6 separate regions of the Homo sapiens genome follow, and all the other regions are linked to region 5. The links are contacts of gene promoters, found by promoter capture Hi-C in blood cells and fetal thymus (Javierre and others, 2016). All regions are on one chromosome and are shown on one strand. Each heading gives the region's core, a stretch centred on a gene start or on the middle of the fragment in contact. The rest is flanking DNA. Distances are from core to core; before and after follow the strand shown. Region 1 has its middle 19 kb from the start of LINC02968. Region 2 overlaps AKAP17A (A-kinase anchoring protein 17A). Region 3 has its middle 57 kb from the start of LINC02968. Region 4 has its middle 41 kb from the start of ASMT. Region 5 holds the start of DHRSX (dehydrogenase/reductase X-linked). Region 6 overlaps ASMT (acetylserotonin O-methyltransferase).

Evidence for each region. Contacts are between HindIII fragments. The CHiCAGO score rates a contact against its expected background, and 5 or more counts as called.
Region 1: a contact is called between a fragment that was not itself captured here and the fragment with the promoter of DHRSX in region 5, in 8 of 17 cell types (naive B cells, naive CD4 T cells, total CD8 T cells and 5 more). The highest score is 8.4, in naive B cells.
Region 2: a fragment that was not itself captured here is called in contact with the fragment with the promoter of DHRSX in region 5 in 16 of 17 cell types (naive B cells, fetal thymus, endothelial precursors and 13 more); the score reaches 11.4 in naive B cells.
Region 3: a contact is called between a fragment that was not itself captured here and the fragment with the promoter of DHRSX in region 5, in 13 of 17 cell types (total CD8 T cells, neutrophils, naive B cells and 10 more). The highest score is 10.8, in total CD8 T cells.
Region 4: a fragment that was not itself captured here is called in contact with the fragment with the promoter of DHRSX in region 5 in 17 of 17 cell types (naive CD8 T cells, total CD8 T cells, megakaryocytes and 14 more); the score reaches 18.0 in naive CD8 T cells.
Region 6: a contact is called between a fragment that was not itself captured here and the fragment with the promoter of DHRSX in region 5, in 10 of 17 cell types (naive CD4 T cells, neutrophils, M2 macrophages and 7 more). The highest score is 7.0, in naive CD4 T cells.

The regions. Positions count from the first base shown.
Region 1 is chrX:1,711,497-1,715,253 of GRCh38, reverse strand. No RefSeq gene overlaps it. Among named protein-coding and RNA genes, the nearest start is that of LINC02968, 19 kb to the left of the region's middle. The HindIII fragment of the contact is 174 bases long and covers 1,907-2,080 here.
Region 2 is chrX:1,592,555-1,596,295 of GRCh38, reverse strand. It overlaps AKAP17A (A-kinase anchoring protein 17A), which reads right to left. Exons shown (of 5, transcript NM_005088.3): 2 at 2,072-2,852; 3 at 764-912. The coding sequence starts at 2,833. Among named protein-coding and RNA genes, the nearest start is that of AKAP17A, 2.8 kb to the right of the region's middle. The HindIII fragment of the contact is 2,741 bases long and covers 846-3,586 here.
Region 3 is chrX:1,673,701-1,677,074 of GRCh38, reverse strand. No RefSeq gene overlaps it. Among named protein-coding and RNA genes, the nearest start is that of LINC02968, 57 kb to the left of the region's middle. The HindIII fragment of the contact is 10,000 bases long and covers 1-3,374 here.
Region 4 is chrX:1,654,177-1,657,899 of GRCh38, reverse strand. No RefSeq gene overlaps it. Among named protein-coding and RNA genes, the nearest start is that of ASMT, 41 kb to the right of the region's middle. RefSeq lists enhancers at 1-100, 101-602. The HindIII fragment of the contact is 4,584 bases long and covers 1-3,723 here.
Region 5 is chrX:2,499,097-2,502,641 of GRCh38, reverse strand. DHRSX (dehydrogenase/reductase X-linked) reads left to right here and starts at 1,666. Exons shown (of 7, transcript NM_145177.3): 1 at 1,666-1,825. The coding sequence starts at 1,717. It overlaps ZBED1 (zinc finger BED-type containing 1), which reads left to right and starts at 1,666. Exons shown (of 2, transcript NM_001171136.2): 1 at 1,666-1,825. The HindIII fragment of the contact is 4,150 bases long and covers 1-3,545 here.
Region 6 is chrX:1,616,123-1,619,813 of GRCh38, reverse strand. The region is part of intron 1 of ASMT (acetylserotonin O-methyltransferase); the gene reads right to left. Among named protein-coding and RNA genes, the nearest start is that of ASMT, 2.9 kb to the right of the region's middle. RefSeq lists an enhancer at 667-1,304. The HindIII fragment of the contact is 4,661 bases long and covers 1-3,691 here.

The sequences.
Region 1 (3,757 bases), core at 744-3,243, 790 kb after region 5:
AGTGTGAGCCACGGCACCCGGCCAATCCCATTCTTTTTCATGGCTGTGTAGTATTCCATGGTGTCTATGTGCCACATTTTCTTTATAGACATATGTACACGTATGTTTATTGCAGCACTATTTACAATAGCAAAGACTTGGAACCAACCCAAATGCCCATCAGTAATAGACTGGATAAACTATATAAGCTTTTTGTTGTTGTTTTGAGATGGAGTCTCCCTCTGTGGCCCAGGCTGGAGTGCAATGGCACGATCTTGGCTCACCAAACCTCTGCCTCCCAGGTTGAAGCGATTCTCCTGCCTCAGCCTCTCAAGTAGCTGGGGTTACAGGCATGGGCCACTATGCCCAGCTAATTTTGTATTTTCAGTAGAGACAGGGTTTCTCCATGTTGGTCAGGCTGGTCTCAAACTCCCAACCTCAGGTGACCTGCTTGCCTTGGCCTCCCAAAGTGCTGGGATTAAATATACAAACTTTTTACTTTCCTTTTTTCTTTTTTTGAGACGGAATCTCGCTCTGTCGCCCAGGCTGGAGTGCAGTGGCACAAATCTCGGCTCACTGCAACCTCTGCCTCCTGGGTTCAAGTGATTCTCCTGCCTCAGCCTCCCGAGTAGCTGGGACTACAGGCACATGCAACCACGCCCGGCTAATTTTTGTATTTTTAGTAGAGACAGGGTTTCACCATGTTGGCCCGGATGGTCTTGATCACCTGACCTGGTAATCTGCCCGCCTCGGCCTCCCAAAGTGCTGGGATTACAGGCGTGAGCCACTGCACCCGGCCAAGTATATAAACTTTTGATGGACCTTTTTGGTGGTTGAGAAACAGGCACACCCAGTTCCCGTCTCTTGTCTTTCCCCCGATGCCCTAATACAGGTGGAAAAGGCTGGATACTCCCAGCCACCCCCCATCAGCGAGGGCTGATGAGGAAGACACAGCTCTGAAGACCAGATACAGGATGAAGTATGCAGGGTGTGGGGAGGTTGGGGAAACACGCCTCCCTGACCGAAATGCGATAATCCCCCAAGGAGATGGCTGTTTCTGCAACAATGATGGGAAGGCTGAAAAATCAGAGCTGCCGTCCAGCTCCCAAACCCTAAATGGACGTGCTCACCTGGCCCTGAATCTGTCCCCTGCATCCTTCACAAGTGAACAATCTCCAGGTCCTTGCTGCCAAAGGCACCACTGAAGCTGAAGATTGAGGCTCCTCCTCCTCTGCAGATGGAGTAATTCCAATATGTAGGACATGTGCCATGACAAAACGCAGCAGAACTGCCAGCCGAGAAAACATTGCCCTGTGCCTTGGAATTGTCTTAGTGTCTCATCAGCATTTGCTTCTCCTAGTTTGAGAGATGGGAGGCGCGAATCTTGACATATTCATCACCAGCATTCCGTCACTAGGACCATATATAAAAAGAGAACTCTACCAGCCTCAGCAACAAAGCGAGACCCCATCTCTAGTAATCAAAAACTAGTAATCAAAAACTAGTAATCAAAAATCTAGTAATCATCAAAAACTAAAATAATTAGCAGACCTTGTAGACATGTGCCTGTAGTCTCAGCTACTCAGGAGGCTGAAGCAGGAGGATCCCTTGAGCCTGGGAGGTAGAGGCTGCAGTGAGCTATGATGGTACCACTGCACTCCAGCCTGGGCAACAGAGGGAGACCTTGTCTCAAAAAACAAACAAACAAAAAATAACAACAACAACAAAACTAGCAGCCAGAAACATTATGCAAATGATGGGGTTGACTGCATTTCAATAAAACTTTATTTACAAAAAAACAAGTGGTGGGCCGTATGTAATAGCACGTCACACACAGGCTGTAATGTGAAAAAAGAGAGAACTCTGATCCATTCCCTCTGCAGCAATTGGCCCCCAGTGGCCAAGGCTTCATTAATACCTGAAAGCTTTCCTAATTCTTCTTCCCATTTCCAATTTAAGTCCAACAAGAGGAAGTCAAATATGCCCCCTAACCACTCACCCAGGACGCCACCATGCTTCCAGTGAGCTGCCTCCAGCTTCCCTGGAGGACAAAGCCTTTCTTCAGGGCACACCTGAGCCTCCCTTTTTCCACGATAAAGCTTTTCCCCTCCTCTGTCTGTCTTTGAGTTTCTGTGATGGTGGCGGACCCCTGCTACAGCAAGCACTGAATAAGTAGCCTTTGCTTGTTCTCTTTTGTGGGGGTCTTTATCTCATTTCCACATTCTGGCAAGGAAATAAGAAACTCAATACTCCTTGAACAGAAATATGGCCAGGCACAGTGGCTGACACTTGTAATCCCAGCACTTTCGGAGGCCAAGGCGGGTGGATCACTTGAGGTCAGGAGTTCGAGACCAGCCTGGCCAACATGGTGAAACCTCATCTCTACTAAAAATACAAAAATTAGCCAGGCGTAGTGGTGGGCACCTGTATTCCCAGCTACTTGGGAGGCTGAGGCAAGAGAATCCCTTGAACCGAGGAGGTGGAGGTTGCAGTGAGCTGAGACCACGCCACTGCACTCCAGCCTGGGTGACAGAGCGAGACTCTGTCTGAAAAAAAAAAAGAAAAGAGAGAGAGATGAAAGAAAGAGAGAGAAAAAGAGAGAGCAAGACAGAAAAAGAGAGAGCAAGAGAAAAAGAGAGAGAGAAAAAGAGAAAGAAAAAGAGAAAAAGAAAGAGAAAGAAACAGAGAAAGAAGAAAGAAAAAAGGACTGATGTGTTATGTATGTATTTATAATCCAACCACATCTGTTGATTCATCTTCCTGCCCCTTCTACACTCTGAATAAATATCAAAAATCTCTTATTCACTGTGAATGTTAAAATTACTGATGAAGAGGTTTAAGAAGAAATAGGGCTGGGCACGGTGGTTCACACCATAATCCCATCACTTTGGGAGGCTGAGACTGGAGGATCGCTTGAGATCAGGAGTTTAAGACCAGCTTAGACAGTATAGCAAGACCCTGTCTCTACAAAAAAAAAAAAAAAAAAAAAAAAAAAAAAAATTAGCTGGGCATGGTGGCATGCACCTGTGGTCCCAGAGACCTGAGAGGCTGAGAGGTGGGAGGATTGCTTGAGCCTCGGAGGTCAAGGCTGCAGCGAGCCGAGATTGGGCCACAGCACTACAGCCTGGGTGGTGACAGAGAGAGCCCTATCTCAAAAAAAAAATAAGAAGAGACGGGTGTGAGGGGAAGAAAGAGAAAGAAAGAAAAAGAGAGACAGAAAGAGAGAAAGAGAGAGAGAAAGAGAAGGAGAGAGAGAGAGAGAGAGAAAGGAAGGGAGGGAGGGAGGGGAAGGCCAGGCACAGTGGCTCACGCCTATAATCCCAGCACTTTGGGAGGCCGAGGTGTGTGGATCACCTGAGGTCAGGAGTTTGAGACCAGCCTGGCCAACATTGTGAAACCGTCTCTACGAAAAATACAAAAATTAGCCAGGTGTGGTGGCACAGGCCTGTAATCCCAGCTACTTGGGAGGCTGAGGTAGGAAAATCGCTTGAACCAGGGAGACGGAGGTTTGCAGTGAGCTGAGATCATCCCATTGCACTCCAGCCTGGGCGACAGAGCAAAACTCGTTTTCAAAAAAAAAAAAAAAAAAAAGAAAGAAAAGAAAAGAAAAAGAAACAGGACATTTGCATATAGTCTTCAAGTCTATACCCCCCAACCCATTGATTATTTCCAGCACATACCACCTTCACCATCAAGATTAACATCACTAGAAACAAGATGTCAAGATGTGTAGACAGGGCCAGGTGCGGTGGATCACGCCTGTAGTCCCAGCACTTTG
Region 2 (3,741 bases), core at 967-3,466, 910 kb after region 5:
TTTAAAGGCCTCTTATGTGAAACCGGGTTTTTGTCCTATCATTGGTTTTTTGTTTTTTTTTTTTTTTTTAAATCTGGCCATCACCATCAACCCTCTACTTCATTTTGTAAATGTAGCCTCAACCTAAATGCAAACTTGCAAACAGCCAAGGCATTCTGCTTGTTTCAGCGGGAGGTGTGAACAGCATGTGGAGGGAGAAGAGGTGGCTCTTCGGGCAAGGCGCGGTCCTGGGAGCCGGCAGAGATCGTGTCAGACCACGACGTGTGACAAGAAAAAGAGAAACATTCATATTCTGCTGCGTCTCAAACAGCCACTCACGCAGGTCCTCACGTGCACAGCTGAGCACCCACAGGCCTGCACACACACCCATACGTGCACACACAAGTACACACACGGGTTCACAGGCACACACGCATGCACACAGGCACATGTGTGCTATGTGCCGATACAGAAGCACACACATGTGGGCACACGTGCACATACACACACAGGTACACACACGAGCTCACACACATGCACGCACACACAGGCACACGTGCACACAGATGCTCAGGCACACACTCGGGCGCACATAGGGACATACAAAGTACACACACCGGTTCACAGGCACACGTGCGTCCATGCACACAGGTACACACACAAGCTCACAAGCATGCATGCACACACACACGCACAGGAATACATGCAGACACACGCACACGGGTCTGCGCACACTCCCAGGTGCCGGACACCAGCGCCGAGGGCCCGCTCCCGCAGAAGGTACCTTTCCTCCGCTCGCTGCCTCTCCTCCGCTTCCTTCTCTCTGCGCTTTTGTTCTTCTCTTTGCTGCTCCAGTTCCTGAAGCTTCTGCCTCTCCAGCTGCCGCTTCTTAATTGAGGCATCACTCAGGTGTTTGGTCGAATCAAAAGAAACCTTTAAAAGCAAAAACAGTGTCAGATGGCCTTCCCCCAAAACCCCCCAGACACACGGCCAGGCGCCCTCTCCTGGGCCGTAGGGCCGAGTGGCCTCAGAGCCTGAGCGCCCGCTCACCGCTCACCGCTCACCACTCATGTCCGGTGCAGACCCAGACAGTGGAGCCCAGAAGCCAAACCAATCCCTTCAAGTCACCATCAGTGGCTCAAGACTTAGCTCATCCCACGGAGTTACGACTCAGCGAGGAACACCAACTAGCCCTCGCCACTTACTGAACACAAGTGACACGCCACCGCTGCGAGACACAGCTCCCCTTCCGCTACCCGGCTCCACCATTCCCTGTGGCCACAGTCACTGAGCAGGCCGCCTGCCCACACCCACAGGGCACATCTTAAGGCCACAAAACCCCCTCCAGGAGGCTGGCTCATTTGTCACTGTGAAGCCAACACGGTCAAAACACGAGGCTAGGCTGAGCGCAGTGGCTCACGCCTGTAATCCCAGCACTTTGGGAGGGCGAGGCAGGCAGTTCATGAGGTCAGGAGTTCGAGACCAGCCTGGCCAATACGGCAAAACCCTGTTTCTACTAAAAATACAAAAATTAGCCAGGTGTGATGGCACGCGCCTGTAGTCCCAGCTACTCGGGAGGCTGAGGCAGAAGAATCGCTCGAACCCAGGAGGCGGAGGATGCACTGAGCAAAGATTGCGCCACTGCACTCCAGTCCAGGAAACAGATCGAGACTCTGCCTCGAAAAAAAAATAAAAATAAAAAAAATAAAAAAAATAAAAAAGCACATGAGGCTAAAGGGAACGTTCAGCCCTGGTTTCAAGGTGCATTCTGGGAAGGCCGGGTTCTCTTGGTTCTGACACGGTTCAAATCCCTGTCAGAGTTCCTGAGGCTCCATCCCTCACCTACTATATGACCTGTGTCTCCCCCACATCTTCCTTAAGATACCAAATTTCCAAAACCACAGCACGGGACCCCTACTCCACCTCACGCCTGTGCCTCTGAAATTGGACAGGCACAGGACTGTTGCTGCCATTTTACTTAGGGGAGGTCCCCACAGCCTCAGGGGTGTGGCTGGGAGCGTTCTGCTGACCCTGCTGGAAGGAAGTCGCCAGAGGGAGGAAGCGCGTGGCTCTCTCGGTGCCCAGGACTCACCTTGATGTTGCAGGCCACGGCCTTGCCGTCCTCGCCCTTGTACATGAGTTTCATCCCGCGCAGGGCGCTCATGGCCTGGATGAAGCCCATGTACTCGCGGTACTGCACATAGGCCTCGAAGTTCAAGTGCCCCCCGAAACTGAAGGTGTGGAAGTTGCGGCCCGTCATCTCCTCCCGGTAGGGGTCCAGCATGGGGATGTCCACATTCCGGATCTCCCCGAACTTCTCAAACACCTTGACCAGGACGTCCTCGCTGGGCTTCTCGGAGCCCGACTCCTTCAGGGCGAACCACTTGCAGGGCAGCCCCTCCAGGTGGATGGTGTCCGGCCGCTCCCCCGGCAGGGTCTCGTTCATGTCCTTGGCGTCGCGGAAGAAGGAGTCCCAGTCGTGGCGGGTGGGGAAGTCGATCTTGAACTCGGCCGCGCGCACCTTCAGGATGTCGGAGAAGCCGCTGAGCTTGATGGTCTTGCCGTCCAGGCAGGCCAGAAAAGACTTGACCAGGCTCTTGTTCTCCACCTCCCCCTCGAAGCGGATGAAGTCCATGGTGCTCTTGGAAATACGCAGCGTGGAGAACTGGTGGTTCTGCACCATGCCCTTCAGCCTCTCCATCACCTCCCAGTTGGAGATGGACTTCCCCGGCTGCTTCAGCTGCGGGAGTGCCACGCTGATGGTCATCTTGGTGATGGGCTTCAGGTACAAGCCGTAAGCAGGGCAGAGCTCCACGGCCTCAGACGTGTCGTGCACGATGGTAGCCGCTGCCATAGCCTCCGGGACCTTGGGCCTGAAACATAAGACGCAGACAGTCAGCACCAGCACCCCCCACCTCCCCCGCCAATGAGGAGGGGCCAAGCCAGCAGGCACTTTCTGGACCCGGAGAAGAGAAACAGCAGTGTCTCTCTGCCGTGTCAGAGACCGGTTTCCACTTTGTTAACAGCCATCTCAACGGAGTTCTTTACTTTTTGAAATCATTAAGAGTACACCAAAGGGGAAAGAGCCGAGCTGATAAAGAACAGGTTAGTGTCAAAGCCTCGGTCAGCACTGCCCGACACCCTACATCCAGCAGCCAGCAGCTCCCAAGGCCTGCAGAATAGGAAGCTGAGCACGACCAGGCCCCTCACACAGGTCAAGTAGGAACGGGGACGCTACAAACGCCTAGCTCCACGGGAAGGGGCAGAGAGACACTGGGGAAGGGAAGGGGCCAGGGAGAGCACAGCTGCAGGCATCTGGAAAGGTTTTGTGGAGGGGGCGGCGGCCCTGTACTTGCCCTGATAAAACAGGAAGTCTCGGGCTGCAACAACAATCCAGAACCATGAACCCTAGTAATCTCCACGAAGGCCAAACGTATCCCAGCTTTAACCCACTCAAAGCCAAAAAGTACAACGAACTTTCCACAAGTTAGGGGCCGGAGTCCCCCGTCTGCGCCTTCTTTCTCCGCCCACCTTCATTAACCCACCTCTTCCCTGCTGAGCTGACGGGCAGCCACTTCCTGACGGCCAAGTCCAAGTAGAGGAAGCTTCACTCGCAGAAACCCAACCATCTCAGGTGACCGCCTCCGGCCCGGCCGCCCACCCCATCAACCTGGAGGCTTCCTGCCAGGCCCAGGAGACGGCCTCCTCGCCCAAGCCCGAGGTGGGAGGTGCGAAAGAAGGGAGGGAGGGTGGAGAAGCGAC
Region 3 (3,374 bases), core at 36-2,535, 830 kb after region 5:
CCTTTTGTGTGCTGGGTCGGGGGTACAGAGGCAGTTGGAAGCTCCTGGCCTCCCACTGGAGGGAAACTCCGATGATTCCACCCTGTCCTTCTTCCCTGAGTCCTCCCGTCCCCTCCCGGAATCCAGGCACCCACAGGTCATCTGTGACTCTCTCAGTCACCCCGCAAACCCACGAGGACCCCTTATTCTCTCTCCTTCGGTGGTGTATCAGACAGGGAAACAGAACCAATAAGATGGAGAAAATCAATAGGAGGTAGATATGATTTTTTTTTTTTTTTTTTGAGATGGAGTCTCACTCTGTGGCCCAGGCTGGAGTGCAGTGGTGCGATCTCGGCTCACTGCAGCCTCCGCCTCCCACGTTCAAATGATTCTCCCGCCTCAGCCTCCCGAGTAGCTGGGACTACAGGTGCCAACCACCATGCCCGACTAATGTTTCTTTTTATTTTTAATAGAGACAGGGTTTCACCATGTTGGCCAGGCTGGTCTCGAACTCCTGACCTCGTGATCCACCCTCCTTGGCCTCCCAAAGTGCTGGGATGACAGGTGTGAGCCACTGCGCCCAGCCTGGAGGTAGATGTTTTATACATACTTATGGACAGACATGTAAACACACATGTAGATAGGTTACAGAGAGATTTTAAGAAATTGGCTACTGGTTTTATACATATAGATATTACATATATATATATATATATATATATATACACACACACACATACACATGCAAAGAGAAATGTTAAGGAATTGTCTATATAGAAGGAATTGTCTATATAGGAAATACATATTGGCTTTAATCACACTTATATAGACACAGGTAGATAGATAGATAGATAATATATATAGAGAGAGAGAGACAAAGAGATTTTAAGGAATTGTCTGTGTAGGAGGTATATGTTGGTTTTTTACATACATATAGATATATAATGTCTATGTAGCTATTTATCTATATATAAATATACACAAAGACAGAGATGTTAAGAAATTCTCAATATTAGGATGTACATATTGGCTTTATCCATACATATCTATATAGAGATATATAATAGCTACATATCTATATGTAGGCCTGGCACGGTGGCTTACGCCTGTCATCCCAGCACTTTGGGAGGCCGAGGCGGGCAGATCACCTGAGGTCAGGAGTTTGAGACCAGCCTGGCCAACACGGTGAAACCCCGTCTCTACTAAAAATACAAAAAATTAGCTGGGCATGGTAGTGGGCACCTGTAGTACCAGCTACTCAGGAGGCAGAGGTGGGAGAATTGCTTGAACCCGGGAGGTGGAGGTTGCAGTGAGCCAAGATCACACCATTGCACTCCAGCCTGGGCAACAGAGCAAGACTCCGTCTCAAAAAAAAAAAAAAGAGGCGGGTGGGGGAGAGAGAGAGAGAGGCAAAGAGATTTTAAGGAATTTCTATGTAGGAGGTATATGTTGGTTTTTTACATGCATATATATATATATATATATACAATATATGTCTATATATACAATATATATCTATATATACTATATATCTATATATATATACAATATATATCTATATAGATACAATATATATCTATATATAAATATACACAGACAGAGACTATCTATACATCTATATATAAAATACACAGAGAGAGAGAGATGTTAAGGAATTATCAGTATAGGAGGTACATATTGGCTTTGTCCATACATATCAATATATAGATATATAATAGCTATATATCTCTATCTAGGCCGAGTACGGTGGCTCACGCCTGTAATCTCAGCACTTTGGGAGGCCGAGACGGGCAGATTACCTAAGGTCAGGAGTTCGAGTCCAGCCTGGCCAACATGGTGAAACCCCGTGTCTAGTAAAAATGCAAAAAATTAGCCAGGCGTGGTGGTGGGCACCTGTAACCCCAGCTACTTGGGAGACTGAGGCAGGAGCATCGCTTGAACCCGGGAGGTGAAGGTTGCAGTGAGCCAAGAACACACCATTGCACTCCAGCCTGGGTGACAGAGCAAGACTCGGTCTCAAAAAAGAGACAGAGAGAGAGGCAAAGAGATTTTAAGGAATTGTCTATGTAGGAGGTATATGTTGGTTTTTACATACATATAGATATATAATGTCTATATATCTATATATAGGTATACACAGAGAGAGAGATGTTAAGGAATTGTCAATATAGAAGGTACCTATTGGCTTTATCCATACAGATCTATATATAGATATATCTATATATATACATACAGAGAGAAAGGAAAGATTTTAAGGATTTGTATACATAATAGGTACATATTGGCTTTATTCATGCATAGCTATATGTAGACATATAATATCTCTATATCTATGTCTATATAAATCTATATACACAGAGAGCGACTTTAAGAAATTAACTATGAAGGAAGTATATGTTGGTTTTATACATACATATAGATATTTGAAGGAGAGACATTTTAAGGAATTGGCTACGTAGGAAGTATATATTGGTTTTATACAGACATCTATAGGTCTTGAGAGAAAGGGAAAGAAATTTGAAGGAATTGTCTAAGTAGGAGGTATATGTTGGTTTCATATATACATGTATTGATATTTGAGAGAGATTTTAAGAAATTGGCTAAGGCCGGGCGTGGTGGCTCACGCCTGTAATCCCAGCACTTTGGGAGGCTGAGGCGGGCGGATCACGAGGTCAGGAGTTTGAGACCAGCCTGGCCAACATGGTGAAACCCTTTCTCTACTAAAAATACAAAAATCAGCCAGATGTGGTGGTGGGCACCTGTAATTCCAGCTACTCGGGAGGCTGAAGCACGAGAATTGCGTGAACCTGGGAGATGGAGGTTGCTGTGAGCCGAGATCGTGCCACTGCACTCCAGCCTGGGCAACAGAGCAAGACTCTGTCTCAAAAAAAAAAAAAAAGAAAGAAATTGGCTAAGTAGGAGGTTTATGTTGATTTTATGCATGCATATATAGATATTTGAGCGAGAGATTTTAAGGAATTGTCTAAGTAGGAGGCATATGTTGGTTTTACACATACATATATAAATATCTAAGAGAGATTTTTAAGGGATTGGCCATGTAGGAGGTATAGCCATGTAGGAGGTATATGTTGGTTATATGCATGCATATAGATATTTGAGAGAGATTTTAAGGAATTGGCTATGAAGGCGGTGTATGTTGGTTTTACGCATGCATATAGATATTTGAGAGAGAGAGATTTTAAGGAATTGGCTATGAAGGCGTTATATGTTGGTTTTATGCATGTGTATACAGATACCTAAGAAAGGAAGATTTTAAGGAATTGGCTCAATGATTCTGGAGGGGAAACACTAAATTCTTCAGGTAGACCAGCAGGCTGCAGAACTCAGGAAGAGTTAATGCTGCAGCTGGAACCCGAATCCCGGGAGGCAGAATC
Region 4 (3,723 bases), core at 836-3,335, 850 kb after region 5:
AGACTGCTGGAGGGATGTGGGGACTTACCGCATGGCTGATGCTCTCAGGTTCCAGCCAGACTTAATGTCCTAAAATGCACCCAAGACAGGCAGGCCTGGGTCCAGACGGCCAGCGGGGAGGGCTGCCCGGGCTCGTCTGCAGAGCCCGGAAAAGGAGGAGGAGGTGAACAGAGGAAGGAGGAAGGGTGATGGGGCCTGCAGGGTGTGATATGACGTGAGTTATCACCTCCCTTTGTGCTGCTGCTGTTTCTTACTGTGGGAAAATACCCATCACACACAGTTTGCCATTTTAAAAATTGCACAATGAAGAGACGATTTAGTGCACTGAGCATTTTACACAACCACCGGCCCTAGCTAGTTCCAGAACACCTTCGTAACCCAAAAAAAAACACCCCATACCCATTAAACCGTCACTCCCCAGTCTCCCTGCTCTCAGCCTTAAGCAATCACCCATCTGCTCTCTGACTCTGCAAGCAGTCTTATTCTAGACACTTCATGCAAATGATATTGTGCCATTTTGCACTTTTGTGCCTGGGTGTTTTTTGTTGTGGTGGTGGTGGTGGTTGTTTTGTTGTTTTTGTTTTCACTCCGTTACTTCTACACCAAACTAATACATGATGTATTCAGTCAGAGGCTATCAAGGACTCAAAAGAATACAACCTTTTCTCTTTTTTTTGAGATGGAGTCTCACTCTGTCACCCACGCTGGAGTGCAGTGGCGTGATCTCGGCTCACTGCAACCTCCGCCACCCGGGTTCAAGCGATTCTCCTGCCTCAGCCTCCCGAGTAGCTGGGATTACAGGTAACTGCCACCATGCCCGACTAATTTTTTTTGTATTTTTAGTAGAGATGGGGTTTCACCATGTTGGCCAGGCTGGTCTCAAACTCCCGACCTCAGGCGATCCACCCACCTCGGCCTCCCAAAGTGCTGGGATGACAGGCGTGAGCCACCACACCTGGCCCCCATTTTTATGGTTATTTCTTGATGATATGCTAAACTAGGAGTGGATTATTCATATGGACTCTTTTTAGACCATATACATTGTATTAGTCAGGGTTCCTTAGAGGAATAGAACTAATAGAAGATATATACACACACACGCACACACACACACACATATATATGTATTGTGTGTGTATATATATGTGTGTGTGTATATGTGTGTATATATGTGTGTATGTGTGTATATATGCGTATACACACGTGTATATATGCGTGTACACACGTGTATATATGTGTGTACACACGTGTATATATGCGTGTACACACGTATATATGCGTATACACACGTGTATATATGCGTATATGCACATATGTGTACATGCACATATGTGTGTATACACATGTGCATATACACATATATGTGTATACATGTATATATACACATGTGTGTGTATACACGTGTATATATGTGTGTATATATACACGTGTATATATACACACATATACGTACATATATATGTGTGTGTGCGTGTGTGTGTATCTTCTATTTGTTCTATTCCTCTAAGGAACCCTGACTAATACAATCTATATGGTCTAGAAAGAGTCCACATGAATTATATATATATGAAGGGGAGTTTATTAAGGAGAATTAACTCACAGAGTCACAAGGTGAGGTCCCACCATAGGTCATCTACAAGCTGAGGAGGCAGGAAGCCAGTCTGAGTCCCAAGGATTAAGAACTTGGAGTCCAGTGGTCCAGGGCAGGAAGCATCCAGCAAAGGAGGAAGATGGAGGCTGGGAGGCTAAGCCAGTCTAGCCTTTTCACGCTCCTCTGCCTGCTTTTATTCTGGCCAGACTGGCAGCTGATGAGACGGTGCCCACCCAGATTGAGGGGGGTTCTGCCTCTCCGAGTCCACTGACTCTAGTGTTATTCTCCTTTGGCAACACCCTCACAGACACACCCAGGAACAACGCTTTGATTGGATCTTTCAATCCAATCAAGCTGCCATTCAGTATTAACCATCACGCCCAGGAAACTCACTCACGGGTCACGATATGCGAAGGTCACTCTAAAATCACTCTAGCTATAAGAGATATTACCCGGGCCTGGCGTGGTGGCTCACGCCTGTCATCCCAGGACTTTGGGAGGCCGAGGCTGGTGGATCACTTGAGGTCAGGAGTACAAGACCAGCCTAACCAACATGCTGAAACCCCATCTCTACTAAAAATACAAAATTTAGCCAGGCATGGTGGTGCGCACCTGTAGTCCCAGCTACTCGGGAGGCTGAGGCAGGGGAATCACTTGAACCTGGGAGACGGAGGTTGCAGTGAGGCGAGATCGCGCCATTGCACTCCAGCCTGGGTGACAGAGAAAGACTCTGTCAAAAAAAAAAAAAACAACCATCAGCTGGTCTGCCTTATTCCAGGAGGCCCACAGAAAGTCTTGGGCAAAATGAAACAGCAGACTCTGGTCCCAGCTCTCTGGCTTTACACATCTACAGACCCTGGGTACCCCCAGCAGGCAGCACCCAGCAGGCCTGAATTATCCTGTCTCCCCCTCCTCCCCAGACGCGGTCTTGAGCCATGTCCTGTTTTGGAACTGTGGCTAAGGGGAGCTTGTGGGTATCAAGTCTCCAGGTATCAGCAGCTCCTCTCATAAACCAAAAATAGGCCGGGCGTGGTGGCTCATGCCTGTGATCCCAGCACTTTAGGAGGCTGAGGCAGACGGATCACGAGGTCAGGAGTTCAAGACCAGCCTGACCAACATGGTGAAGCCCCATCTCTACTAAAAATTAAAAAATTAGCCAGGCATGGTGGCGGGCGCCTGTAGTCCCAGCTGCTTGGGAGGCTGAGGCAGGGGAATCGCTTGAACCCGGCAGGCGGAGGTTGCAGTGAGCCGAGTTGGGGCCACTGCACTCCAGCCTGGGCAACAGAGCGAGACTCCTTCTCAAAAAAATAAAAAATAAATAAATAAAGCAAAAATAAAAATCTGAATGGACTCCCTCCTTGGCCAGGACACTCTAAAATTTAACATGAAATTATTTCAATTTCAATTTAAAGTTCATGCCATGTTGGGAAGTGGAGGTTGGCCAGGCCTCGCCACACCCCTCTGTTACCAGAAAGGGGTCCTCATCCAGATCCCAAGAGAGGGTTCTAGGATCTCATGCAAGAAAGAATTGAGGGCAAGTCCATAGACCAAAGGGAAAGCGAGTTTATTGGGAAAGTAAAGGAATAAAAGAATGGCTACTCCGTAGACAGAGCAGTCCCCAAGGTTGCTGGTTACCCATTTTTATGGTTCGTTCTTTCTTTTCTTTCTTTCTTTCTTTTTTTTTTTTTTTTTTTTTTTGATTTTGAGACGGAGTCTTGCTCTGTCACCCAGGCTGGAGTGCAGTGGCATGATCTCGGCTCATCGCAACCTCTGCCTCCCAGGTTCAAGCGATTCTTCTGCCTCAGCCTCCCGAGTAGCTGGGACTACAGGCATGCACCACCACGCTGGGCTGATTTTTGTATTTTTAGTACAGATGGGGTTTTGCCATGTTGGTCAGGCTGGTGTCAAACTCCTGACCTCGTGATGCGCCCGCCTCGGCCTCCCAAAGTGCTGGGATGACAGGCGTGAGTCACCGCACCTGGCCTTTATGGTTATTTCTTGAAGATATGCTAAACAAGGGGCGGATTATTCATGCCTCCCCTTTTTAGACCATATAAGGTAACTTCCTGACGTTGCCATGGCATTTGAAAACTGTCATGGTGTTGGTGGGAGTATAGCAGTGAGGACGACCA
Region 5 (3,545 bases), core at 417-2,916:
TGTGGGATTTCAGCCTTGGCCCTGGTAAGGGTCTGGGTGGGGGTTCTGTGCTGGTCTGGGGTTCCCTGAGGGAGCCCAGGTAACTCTGTGGTTGTCTGGGGTTCCCAACCAAGGTCTGAGTAGGGGTCTGCTGTCCCAGTAGGGATCAGGGTGGGGAGGGGGCTCGTGGTCCCTGAAGTAGTCTGGAGTTCTCTGCAGGGGCCGGGAAGGGGGTCTGTGATCCCTGCAGGGTTGTTGGGGGCAGGGAAGTGGAGGGGTAGGTTTGGTGGGTGGTGTCTGTGGCCTGGCAGGAATTGGGGTGGGGTCTGTGGTCTCAGTAGGAACTGGGGTGTGGGGTCCGTGCTTGGGGCAGGTTCTGTGGTGTCAGCAGGAACTGGGGTGTGGGGTCCGTGCTTGGGGCAGGTTCTGTGGTGTCAGTACGAATTAGGGTGTGGGGTCCATGGTCCTTACAGCTGTTCAGAGTCCTCTGTGGGAGTCCTGGTCCATAATCCTGGCATGGCTCTGGGTGGTTGTCTGGGGTTCCCTATGGGGTCCAAGTCCTTGTGGTCCCTGCTGAGGTCTGCGTGGGGTTACATGATTCTGGCTAAGATGGGGAGGGTGGTTCCCGTGGTGGTCCTGGTCCCCTGCAGGGTCTGGGTAGGGGATCTGTGATCCCATGGTGGGGGTCCTGGCTGGGGCTTGAATGGGGTTCCATGGTCTTGGCTGGAGTGTGGGGTCTTGGAGAGGCAGTCCAGCTGGGGTCTGTAGTCCTGGGGGGCGTCCTGGCAGGGGTCTGTGGTCTTGTGGGGTGCTGGCTGGGGCCTGTGGTCCGGGGGGTGGTTGTGATGGAGGTGGAGGTCCTAGAAGGGGGCCCCAGTAGGGGTCTGTGATCCTGGAGAGGGGTCCTGGTGGTGGGGGTCCCAGTGGAGGTCTGTGGTCCTGGGGGGCCCTGGGAGGATCTGTGGTACTGGGGAGTCCTGGTGGAGGTCTGTAGTCCTGGTGGGGTTCTTGGTGGGGTGTCTGGGCGTGCCCCAGTGGGGGGGCCTGTGGTCTTGGGGGTCCCAGCAGGGGTCTGGGGTCCTGGGGGGTGTTCTTGGGAGGAGTCTATGGATCTGACTTGGGTGCTGGCTGGGGTCTGTAGTCCTGGGGGCGTCCTGGCTGGGGCTGTTGGTCTTGTGGTGGTGGGGATCCCTGCTGGGGTCTGCAGTCCTGCCGGGAGGGGGAAGGGTCCCTGCTGGGGTCTGTGGTCCTGGAGGAGGTGTGGAGGGTCCCTGCTGGGGTCTGTGGTCCTGGGGGGGATTCCTGGCTGGGGTCTGTGGTCCTGGCTGGGGGTGTGTGTGGGGGGTCCCTGCTGGGGTCTGTGGTCCTGAAGGGGGGGTCCTGACTGGGGTCAGTGGTCCTGGGGGCGTCCTGGCTGGGGTCTGTGGTCCTGGGGGGGGGGGTCCTGGCTGAAGTCTATGGTCCTTGCAGGGGGGGGTTCCTGGCTGGAGTCTGTGGTCCTGGGGGGGGTGTCCTGGCTGGGGTCGGTTGTCCGCTCGGGGTCCCCAGTCCTGCAGGCGGTGCGGGATCCCAGAGGGCCCGGGCGGGGTCTGGGGTTGGGGGTTCCCCGCAGGCCGGGGCGGTTCGGGGCGGGCAGGGGGCGGTCCGGGGCGCGCGCGTTTCCGCCGTCCGTCCGGGCGGGCGGGCGCAGAGTCCCGCGGGCGGCGCGGAAGCGGCGGCGGCGCGGCCGGGGCAGCCATGTCGCCATTGTCTGCGGCGCGGGCGGCCCTGCGGGTCTACGCGGTAGGCGCCGCGGTGATCCTGGCGCAGCTGCTGCGGCGCTGCCGCGGGGGCTTCCTGGAGCCAGGTCAGCGGGGCGGGGCAGGGGTCAGGGCTCCGGGGACCCGGGTGGGCGCGGGCTGGCTCGGGGGCGGGGGCGCGGGGGCTCCGCGTGACCTTGGCGAGGCGGTGGCGCTCCCGGAAGTGGGGCTGGGCGGGGGTCGAGGTGTGGCCGGGGGTGGGGGGGGGGCGGCGTGCGCGCTGGGACCTCCCCGCCCCGCGCTTTCCGTCCCCGCCGGCTCTTCTGCGCGCCTGGCCCGGCCCGACCCGGCCCGACCCTTCCCTCCCCGCGCGTGTGGCCTCCCCGCCTGTCCCGGGTCGGGCTCCAACCAAGCAGCCCCCGTGCAGCCGCCCCCCCGCGCACCCTGACACCTCCGGGCCATGGCCGGGGACCCGGGGGCTCGCACGCCCCGCGCCCAAGACATCAGGCGGCTCTGCCTGCCGCCTGCGGTCGGCCAGTGACCGCGCGCCCCCGCCAGGCCCCGGAGGGGAGGAGCGGGCGTCCCAGGGACCTCGACCCCTACCCACCCCAGGGTAAGTGAGGATGGGCCCTTCTCCGGAGGACGTCTCCAGAGGGGGCCCAGAGGCGGCTTCTCGGGCACTGGGGAGCCACGGAGGTCTGGTGGGGAGGGCAGGCCCGTTAAGTGGCAACTTTGTTTCCTTGGCCTTTGTAAACATCTCTGAGTCACAGATCTCCAACTTTGCAGGACTCGTTCACTGTCTGAACTCATCAGTGATGACCGCCACTGTGTTTTGTGTATGCAGATAACTTCTGTTCCTAGATTTGCAGGTTCAGAATTTATTATTATTATTATTTTTTGTAATAGGAAGTAGAGATGAAGTCTTGCTCTGTTGCCGAGGCTACTCTCGAACTCCTGGGCTCAAGCAGTCCTCCTGCCTCAGCCTCCCAAAGTGCTGGCATTACAGGCACCAGCTACTGCATCCGACTAATGTTTTAAAGTTTTGTAGACGGGGTCTTGCTATGTTGCTCAGGCTGGTCTCGAACTCCTGGGCTCAAGCGATCTTCCTTCCTTTGCCTCCCAAACTGTTGGGATTACAGGTGTGAGCCACCACACCTGTCTAATGTTTTAATTTTTTTGTGTAGCAATAGGGTCTTGCTACGTTGCCCAGGCTGGTCTGAAACTCATGGGCCGAAGCAATCCTCCTACCTGGGTCCCCCAAAGTGCTGGGTTTACAGGCGTGAGCCACCACGCCTGGCTAATGTTTTAAATTTTTTGTAGAGATGGCATCTCACCATGTTGCCCAGGCTGGTCTTGAACCCCTGGCCTGCAGCAATCCTCCAGTCTGGGCCTCCCAAACTGCTGGGATTACAGACAGAGCGCCACTGTGCCCAGCCCATATTCTCAATTTAAACCTAGAAACCTGTAAACAATTATTTGTGAACTGGAATAAAGGGAATGTTAATTCCATGTTAGGTTAAATGATACTTTGTTTCAAAAATAACAGTTTTCCAAAACAGAGCGTTCAGAGGGTCAGTGTGGTGGGGGTGGGGGTGTACGTTGCCCTGAATGTCTTAAATGTCCAGCCTAAGAAGAGAGCTGTTATTTCTGCCTCTGTAGACAGTTTCATGGCATGTCAGGAGGCCTCTGGAAGACACTACTGCACGCCTCTGGGAGACTGGGAGTCAGCCAGGCGAAGCGCTTGGGTGCCTTATTGTGAAATGACTTTTGACTTCCACTCTGCACCCACTGAAGGAATCCCAGGGGTCCCAGCGCCACCCTTTGAGA
Region 6 (3,691 bases), core at 395-2,894, 880 kb after region 5:
GGCCCGTATTAACCTTTTTAAATTAGCGTTCTGTTTTGTTTTATTCATTAAAGTTGTATTCATTCCTTTTGGGGTTGTCTCAATTAATTGTTCTTTTAAGGGCATATATTAAATGTTACCTTCTTATGGCTGAGTTCACCCTTGGTCTATGAAAGGTGCATTAACTGTTTCTGTTAAGGGTACGCTAACTTTGATCTTTTTTTTTTTCTGCTCCCAAAGACTTTTTATTATTATTATTATTATTATTATTATTATTATTATTATACTTTAAGTTCTGGGGTACATGTGCAGAACGTGCAGGTTTGTTGCACAGGTATACATGTGCCATGGTGGTTTGCTGCACCTGTCAACCCGTCACCTACATTAGGTATTTGTCCTAGTGCTCTCCCTCCCCAGCCCCCACTTTTTTTTTTTTTTTTTGAGACAGGGTCCCGCTCTGCCCCCAAGGCTGGAGTGCAGTGGCGTGATCTCGGCTCACTGCAACCTCCACCTCCCGGGTTCACGCCATTCTCGTGCCTCAGCCTCCCAAGTAGCTGGTACTACAGGTGCCCGCCACCACGCCCAGGTAATTTTTGTATTTTTAGTAGAGATGGGATTTCACCATATTGGCCAGGCTGGTCTCGAACTCCTGACCTTGTGATCCGCCCGCCTCGGCCTCCCAAAGTGCTGGGATTACAGGCGTGAGCCACTGTGCCTGGCCAAGGGTATACTAAATGTTATCTTCTTAAGGCGATATTCACTCTTGGTCTATGAAAGCTGCATTAGCTAATTGTTTCTGTTAAGGGTGTACTAAGTTTGATCCTCTTAAGGTGGTATTAACTCTGCATTAACTCTGGTTCTGTGAAACTTCTGACAACTCCCATGACATGGTATCATGTGCCTTAAAGTGACTGCTCTTCCAAGATTTAGAACCCACCAGACCACCTCCCTGAACACCGCTGTGAACCAGCGACAGTCTTTGAATGAGCAGTCAATAGCCCCAGCAGGAGGCCTGCGGTCAAAGGAGGCAAAGGTAGCAAGTTACTGTTGTCTGGGACAGTAACAGAAATCCCACCTTTACTAAAAAATAGAAAAATTAGCCAGACATGTTGGCTCATGCCTATAATCCTAGCACTTTGGGAGGCTGAGGCAGGCAGATCACCCGAGGTCAGGAGTTCGAGACCAGCCTGGACAACATGATGAAACCCCGTCTCTACCAAAAATACAAAAAATTAGCTGGATGTCAGTGGCTCACGCCCGTCATCCTAGCACTTTGGGAGGCTGAGGCAGGCAGATTGCCCAAGGTCAGGAGTTCAAGACCAGCCTGGCCAACATGATGAAACCTCATCTCTACCAAAACTACAAAAAATTAGCCAGAGGCAGTAGCTCACACCTGTAATCCTAGCACTTTGGAAGGCCGAGGCAGGCAGATCGCCCGAGGTCAGGAGTTCGACACCAGCCTGGCCAACATGATGAAACCCCGTCTCTGCCAAAAATACAAAAATTAGCCGGGCGTGGTGGTGGACGCCTGAAATCCCAGCTACTCAGGAGGCTAAGGCAGGGGAATTGCTTGAACCTGGGAGGGAGAGGTTGCAGTGAGCTGAGATCATGCCACTGCACTCCAGCCTGGGCAACAACAGTGAAACTCCATATCAGAAAAATAAATAAAAATAAAAATAAAAATAAAAGTTAGCCAGGCTTGGTGGCAGGCACCTGTAATCCCAGGTACTCAGGAGGCTGAGGCAGGAGAATCGCTTGAACCCCGTAGGCGGAGGCCGCTCTGCGTATCAGTGGCTGGGGAATAGGTATTTTTAACCCTTGGGGGCCTAGAGGTAAAATTCACGGGCTCTACAAACCAGGAAGGAGAAGAGACTTCACTCTAATTTTCACTACCTCTTCCTAAGATGTGGTGTTCCCTTCAACCATGAGCGTACTGGCAAACCACAGCCATGATAGAAGAAAGTGTGGGGGCCAGGAGGATCACCTGAGGTTGGGAGTTCGAGACCAGCCTGACCAACATAGAGAAACCCCATCTCTACTAAAAATACAAAATTATCTGGGCGTGTTGGAACGCGCCTGTACTCCCAGCTACTCGGGAGGCTGAGGCAGGAGAATCGCTTGAACCCGGGAGGCAGAGGTTGCAGTGAGCCGAGATAGCGCCACTGCGCTCCAGCCTGGGCGACAAGAGGGAAACTCTGTCTGAAAAAAAAAAAGGAAAAAAACAAACAAAAAAAACCGGTGGCTTGCTGACGGAGAGAAACCACAGATATTTTCAAGTCACACGAGAGCTGCTGCAGACATCTCAAAATATCGTCAGCACACGACCCCCTTTCACGATGATGCTGGTTTTTGGTTTTTGTTCTGAGACAGAGTCTCACTGCGACACCCAGGCTGGAGTGCAGTGGCATAATCTCGGCTCACTGCAACCTCTACCTCCTCCGGGTTCAAGCAATTCTCCTGCCTCAGCCTCCCGAGTAAATGGGATGACAGGTGCCCACCATCATGCCTGGCTAATTTTTATACTTCTAGTAGAGACGGGGTTTCACCATGTTGGCCAGGCTGGTCTTGAACTCCTGACCTCAAGTGATCCGCCCACCTTGGACCCCAAAAAGTGCTGGGATGACAGGCATGAGCCACCGCGCCCTGCCGTTTATTTTTTAAAGAGACTCAGTATTGCTCTGTCATCCAGGCTGGAGTGCAGTGGTGCAATCATAGCTCACTGCAGCCTTCATCTCCTAGGCTTAAGCGATCCTCCCGCCTCAGCCTCCTGAGTAGCTGGGACTACAGGTGTGCACCACCCCACCTGGCTAATTTTTAAAATATTTTTGGCCAGGCACAGTGGCTCACGCCTGTAATCCCAGCACTTTGGGAGGCCGAGGCGGGCGGATCATGAGGTCAGGAGATCGAGACCATCCTGGCTAACACGGTGAAACCCCGTCTCTACTAAAAATACAAAAAATTAGCCGGGCGTGGTGGCGGGTGCCTGTAATCCCAGCTACTCGGGAGGCTGAGGCAGGAGAATGGCGTGAACCTGGGAGGTGGAGCTTGCAGTGAGCCGAGATCGTGCCATTGCACTCCAGCCTGGGCGACAGAGCGAGACTCTGTCTCAAAAAGAAAAAAGAATTTGTAGAAATGGGGGGTCTCACTATGTTGCCCAGACTGGTCTCGAATTCCTGGGCTAAAGCGATTCCCTCGTTTCGGACCCCCAAACCGTTGGGATGACAGGTGTCACCGCTGAGCCCGGCCATCATTAACCCTTTTCAAGCATAATTCAGGGGCACTTAGTACATTCGTGATGTTGTATAGCCAGCACTTCCGCCGGGTTCCAGAACATTTGCATCACCCCAAAAAGGGACACTGTCTCCGTTAAACACTCCCTCCGCAGTCCTGCCCAGCCTCTGCAAACCACCAGTCCACTTTCCACCTCGAAGGATTTGCCTGCTCTGCACATTTCATATAAATGAAGTCATACCATATGGGGCCTTTCACGTCAGCCTTCCTTCACTGAGCACGATGTTATTCTGTGAGAAGAAGAAATGAGGCCTTGGGAGGCCGAGGCAGGTGAATCACTTGAGGTCAGGAGTTCGAGACCAGCCTGGCCAACATGGTGAAACCCCATCTCTACTAAAAATACAAAAATTAGCCGGGCGTGGTGGTGGGTGCCTGTAATCCCAGATACTCGGGAGGCTGAAGCAGGAGAATAGCCTGAACC